2 separate regions of the Homo sapiens genome follow, and region 2 is linked to region 1. Evidence: promoter capture Hi-C in 16 types of primary human blood cells and fetal thymus (Javierre and others, 2016). All regions are on one chromosome and are shown on one strand. Each heading gives the region's core, a stretch centred on a gene start or on the middle of the fragment in contact. The rest is flanking DNA. Distances are from core to core; before and after follow the strand shown.

Evidence for each region. Contacts are between HindIII fragments. The CHiCAGO score rates a contact against its expected background, and 5 or more counts as called.
Region 2: a contact is called between a fragment that was not itself captured here and the fragment with the promoter of KDM3A in region 1, in 1 of 17 cell types (non-activated CD4 T cells). The highest score is 5.3, in non-activated CD4 T cells.

The regions. Positions count from the first base shown.
Region 1 is chr2:86,439,971-86,442,682 of GRCh38, reverse strand. KDM3A (lysine demethylase 3A) reads right to left here and starts at 1,312. Exons shown (of 26, transcript NM_018433.6): 1 at 1,239-1,312; 2 at 450-665. The coding sequence starts at 635. RefSeq lists enhancers at 469-528, 1,519-1,598, 1,679-1,878, 1,700-2,243 and silencers at 729-778, 999-1,388. The HindIII fragment of the contact is 3,261 bases long and covers 1-2,712 here.
Region 2 is chr2:85,888,887-85,891,598 of GRCh38, reverse strand. ST3GAL5 (ST3 beta-galactoside alpha-2,3-sialyltransferase 5) reads left to right here and starts at 2,609. Exons shown (of 7, transcript NM_003896.4): 1 at 2,609-2,712. The coding sequence starts at 2,694. ST3GAL5-AS1 (ST3GAL5 antisense RNA 1) reads right to left here and starts at 2,319. Exons shown (of 3, transcript NR_110569.1): 1 at 1,796-2,319; 2 at 394-423. RefSeq lists a silencer at 2,208-2,712. The HindIII fragment of the contact is 1,799 bases long and covers 508-2,306 here.

The DNA of each region.
Region 1 (2,712 bases), core at 63-2,562:
CAAGTCTGAAAGTTTTTTTAAAAGTTGAGTGAATAAATTAACAGGAACAAACAAACAAAACCAGCTGAAAGTACTTCCAAGCACTAACCTTCAATTCTTAATGACTCCAAACGTCACTTACAGGCCCTACCTAACGCTAACAAAAATACTCCTCCTCCTCTGCAGTAAAGATGAGACAGTCCTGGTGGGACACAGCACCGGCATTAATGAAGCGTGTCTGAACAACCCTAAGCCCATTATTAAAGCCAGGCAGCCAGGAGCTGTGGGCCAAACACAACTCGGCTCTATACAACCATTCCAAAGACTTTCAAGATCTAGCTTCCTGCACCTTCAGATCATATGCCAACTTTCTGGTCTCCGTTTTCAGAAAACGGAAGGAGGGAACCGATGGTCGCGTTACCACGGTAACTGCGAAACGTCCGGTGGCAGAGGCCCGGAGCCGCCTGTACCTTCAGATCCTTCTTGGTAACGTCGGTGTGGGAAACAGCTCGAATGGTCCCGGAGAGCCAGGGCCACTCGGCGACGCGCTCCACGTCCCAGCTGTCGTGGCTGCCATCGCTGCCGTCGGCTGCGGACAGACTGAGAAACCTCCTCCCCACCAATACCGGCCAACTTTCTCCGAGCGTGAGCACCATGGTTTCCACGCCTGCAGGAAGAGCTCCTCCCTGCAAAAACACAAAAACAAAATGCGACGGGGGCGGCCGGTGGGAGGGGGCCGGGCGGAGACAGCAGGGAGGGCGGGCGGAGGGCGCCGAACCCGCGCGAGGACGCGGCCCCGGGCGGACCCGCACCGAGCCCCCCTCCTGCGCCCTCCCGCCCCCCGCCGCCCTCCCCCGCCACACACCCGGGCCCCAGCGCCGCGTGACCCTCGCTCTCCCAAGTTTGGCTTTTCTAACAGCTCAAACGCAACCGCAGAGGGAGTGAGGGAAAAATTATCTGCGGCTCGAGTGGATTTGAAAGTGCTCAGCCCCCAGCCCCGAAAAGAAAAGGCCCCTGGTGCAGAGAGCCGGTCCCGGGCGGCTGGGTCCCCGCCCCGGGCGGCCCCACGGGGGAGGGTGGGCGAGCCCGCGATTCCGCACTTGCCCCGCCGCCCCGCCCCGGCGCCCAGCTCCCCGGCCCCGAACCCCGGGCGCCCGTCTCCCGGGCCTGCGCCGCTGCCAACGGGCGACGGGGCCGCGCGCTCGGCGCTTTCACCTTTCTCTCCCCTCTCCCCGCAGCCGAGGCCGCGGCGCTCTTACCCCGCCTCCCGCCTCCCTGAGTCACCGGCGGCAGCCGCCGTTTCCAGCCGCCTAGCCGACTCCAGCGCTGACTTGGTTCAAGAGCTCTCACAAGACACGCACAGCCTCCCGGACCCGCCCCCCTCGGAGCCGCTTCCGCCGCTCATTGGCTGAAACACAGGAGCTGGGCGAGGCTCCGGGGGAAACAGATCATCACCATTGGCCCCCCGGGCGAGGGCGGGGCCAGAGAAAAAAACAATTCCTTGGCTGCCTCCTCCCTTTCCCCTCCCCCTTCCGACTCCCGGGCGACCCCCATTAGGTTAAAGTACACAGAGAATAAGCGAGTGATCCCTCCGCCATAGGCCTATTCTTTCCATTTGTTGCCTCACAGTATGCAAAAAAAAAGTCCCGCGAAATCGGTTATCAACTTTGGGGCCCGGAGGAAAATTGCTGTGGCGCATAGATAAGACTGAATGGCGAGACCCTGAGCTATAAGTGCCTACTGGATTGTTCTTCAACCGCGTAGGCTGTCGACCGAAGATGAGCCTTCCACTTGGCGGAAGAATCTCACAGGAAAGGGTGAGGGCGGTGCAGGGTTAGCGGGGGAGGGCAGGGAAGAGAACGTGCGGTTTCAGGCGTACTCAGCTAGAGGGAGGAGCGATAGTGCTCTGGAGGCTCGTGCGCAGGCGCCTCGCCGAGCTTAGGCTGCTGGGCGAAATGGCTGCGGGAGGCGCAGGCGCACGTGGTACTGATCGTGGAACGTCTAAAGTCCGCCATTTTGAAGGATAAATGAAGAAAGGCGTGGAGTTACTGGATAATGACGTTCATTAAATTTAGAGCAAAAGAGACCTTTAAATACAATGTATAATGAGATTTTTTTTTCTCCAAAGTGGGATTGAGAAGGTATTCAGATACTTACAAAGAAATTTAAAGTAGTTGAAGGCCATAATGAATGATGGAAGAGATGAAAGAGAAGGTGACTTTGAAGGACAAAGGAGTTTAGAGGTGATTGTGTGCTCTGGACCTGAAGTATTTTGATTGAATGAAAAAGAAATGGAATGAAGAAATTGAAGATATGTTCATAAAGGCTAGTGTTTGACATTACATCACATTTAATCCTTAAGAAGAACTCATGCCTCCCATTTTACAAGCGTGGAAACGTATAATCAGAGAATGTTTGGAAACATATAAGGGATTATAGATGCAAATCAACTCTGGATGTTGATTTTCAATATACATATTCTGAATGTGATTTTAAGTTTTTAAAGTTAGTAACAAGAATTAAATTGGATTTATAATCTGTAGACCATTTAAAGGAAGGGGGCTGCTAAATGAGAAGAAAAAACCTATCCAGCTGAAAGAAGGCAGAAATGGGAACGAGATAAGCAAAAGAAACCAGAACATATGGTAAAAATGTTTTTCATGTGAAAAGTCCAAACATCAGTATTTACAATAAATGTAAATGGGTTAATTTCACTCACAAGTTTTAAAAGAC
Region 2 (2,712 bases), core at 158-2,657, 550 kb after region 1:
TACTTTTAGCAGAGACAGGGTTTCACCATGTTGTCCAGGCTGGTCTCAAACTCCTGACCTCAAGTAATCTGCCCACCTCGGCTTCCCAAAGTGCTGGGATCACAGGTGCGAGCCACCATGCCCAGCCAAAAAATAACTGGTTTTGGCTGCATGCAGTGGCTCACATCTGTGATCCCAGCACTTTGGGAGGCCCAGGCAGGAGGAACACTTGAGCCTAGGAGTTTGAGGCCAGCCTGGGCAACAGAGGGAGACTGCTGTCTCTACAAAAAATTAGAAATTAGCCTGGCATGGTGTTGGGTACCTGTAGTTCCAGCTACTTGGGAGGCTGAGGTAGGAGGATTGCTTGAGCCCAGGAGGTGGAGGTTGCAGTGAGCCAAGATCGTGCCACTGCACTCCAGCTTGGATGACAGAGTGAATCTGTCTCTAAAAAAGAAAAAAAAAAAAACGCTGCTGTCCTGGATTTGTAAGTAGCCTGAGTGACTCTTTGCTAGTCACTATTCAGAAGCTTCTCTGAGATCAGCCACTGACTTGGAGAGATAACAGTAAGGCTTTGAGATCTAGAGGCTGATCTTAGTCTGCTGTTTGGAGATCTCTGCCTTAATCCAGAATAATAGCTGAGGATGTCTCTGTGGCTGATGAAGAAAAGGAAGTTTGCAGGCCTGCTTGTCTTGCTGCCCAAGTGGGTCAACCTAATGTGAGTGGAGTGAATGAGGTAGTAAGGGCTTAACAGATGTCTTGTGATTCTGGGACAGGAGGCAGCTTCAAGTTCCTTTTCTTCCTCACCCCCACCTTACACCCATCCTTGGAAGCTGGGATACTGCTGACTCTCATGGCAGCCATAACGCTATCAGCGCCTGGCTTTGCCGACAAGGGGAATCTGGAAGAGAAGGGGAAGGACAGGGGAGACAAAGAGAGGTAAAGAGTGTTGCATCAAGCACATGTGTCAGAAGTGTTCAAACCAGAGCGCCTCCATTTTGAGTGAGGGCTAGAAAAATGAGGCTGGGACTTGCTAGGCTGCATTTCCTGAAAGCTAGGCATTCCTAGCCTCTAGGTGTTTATGGTTAAGAGAACAAATTAATAATGCTTACTAAACAGACCCAGACTTGAGAGAGTCCAGATATCCCGATATCTGGAGAACAAAGGCATTCCTAATTTTGCTTTAAAAATAATAATATTGATTATTGCAAAATATAGTAATTAGGGAAAATTAATCCTTTATCACAAACCCTTGTAGCAGAAGACATCTGCCCATATATACAAGCATTACAAGCATTGTACCTTAGTTGGATATGTCCCTCCTCTTATTTTCAGGAATGCCCTGCTGGAGTGCAGTGGCGATCTCGGCTCACTGTAGCCTCTGCCTCCCGGGTTCAAGCGATTCTCCTGCCTCAGCCCCGTGAGTAGCTGAGACAACAGGCTTGCGCCACCACGCCCGGCCAATATTTGTATTTCTAGTAGAGACGGGGTTTTGCCATGTTGGCCAGCTGGTCTTGAACTCCTGACATCAGGTGATCTGTCCGTCTCAGCCTCCCAAAGTGCTGGGATTACGCGTGAGCCACTGTGCCCAGCCACCACTTTACTTTCTTAATAAACTTGCTTTTACTTTGCACTGTGGACTTACTCTGAATTGTTTCTTGCGTGAGATCGAAGAACCCTCTCTTGGGGTCTAGATCGGGACCCCTTTCCTGTAACACATGGGCCTTGGGCTGATCTCCAAGATTAAGAGGGCAAGATACTCAGCTGCAAGGGTCAGCTGTCGCTGACCCCAGCAGCTGCTCTGCCTTGGCCAACTTACCGGATTTAAATCGCCCAGTGACAGCTTTTCCTCCAGTATTTTCAAAATGCTCCCAATATCCTCACGTTAGAACAATCCAGAAATAGTCTTATGGTAAAACTCTTTTGGGAAATGTGAAAGTAGAGTCCTCCCACCTTTTCCTTTGCAACGCTTTTGCCCCAACCTCGATCGCCCAGGCAGCACATTTTTTCCGGCACCCCCACCAAGGGAAGAACAGAGACATCTCCAAACCAGCTGCCCTGCGCCAAGCTGTTACAAAATAGAGCCACAAGTCTCCCGGTTTATGCAAACATATTTGGCTCGGTGTCTAGGATCTTCTTTTTCAAACTCAGAAGGAGATCACAGGCACACGGCCGCGGTGCTGTGTACGCCCCTCTGAAAGGAAGTTCTGCAAGTCGACCGACTTCACTGGCTTCACTGAAGTCCGGTCCGAAACCACCGGAAAGTTGCAGGCGCACAGTATACGTTCAGCTGTGTCCAAGAAATAACCTATCAATCACTGCCTTAAGCTTTGTTTCCTTCCTGAATTTTCTTATTTTCACGAATATTTATGCTTTCACAAACTGTATGTCATTTCCTCTCCAGAACCAAGGGGGGCTCGCCCCAGCCTGGCCCCCGCCCCGGGTGCGTCCCTGCAGGGGGCGCCCTGCTCTGGCAATGCCCACCGCACCGCAGGGCTGACTGGCCGCGCGCCCGGGGGCGGGGGCCGCCGCGGAGGCATCGTGCTCTCCGATTGGCCGTCCGCGTCCTCGTGACGTCAGACCCCGCCCACGCGCCCCTCCTCCGCATCTGAGCGGGGGAGCGGCGGCCCCCAGCTGAATGGGCGCGAGAGCGGCGCTGGGGGCGGGTGGGGGCGCGGGGTACCGGGCTGGCGGCCGGCCGGCGCCCCCTCATTAGTATGCGGACGAAGGCGGCGG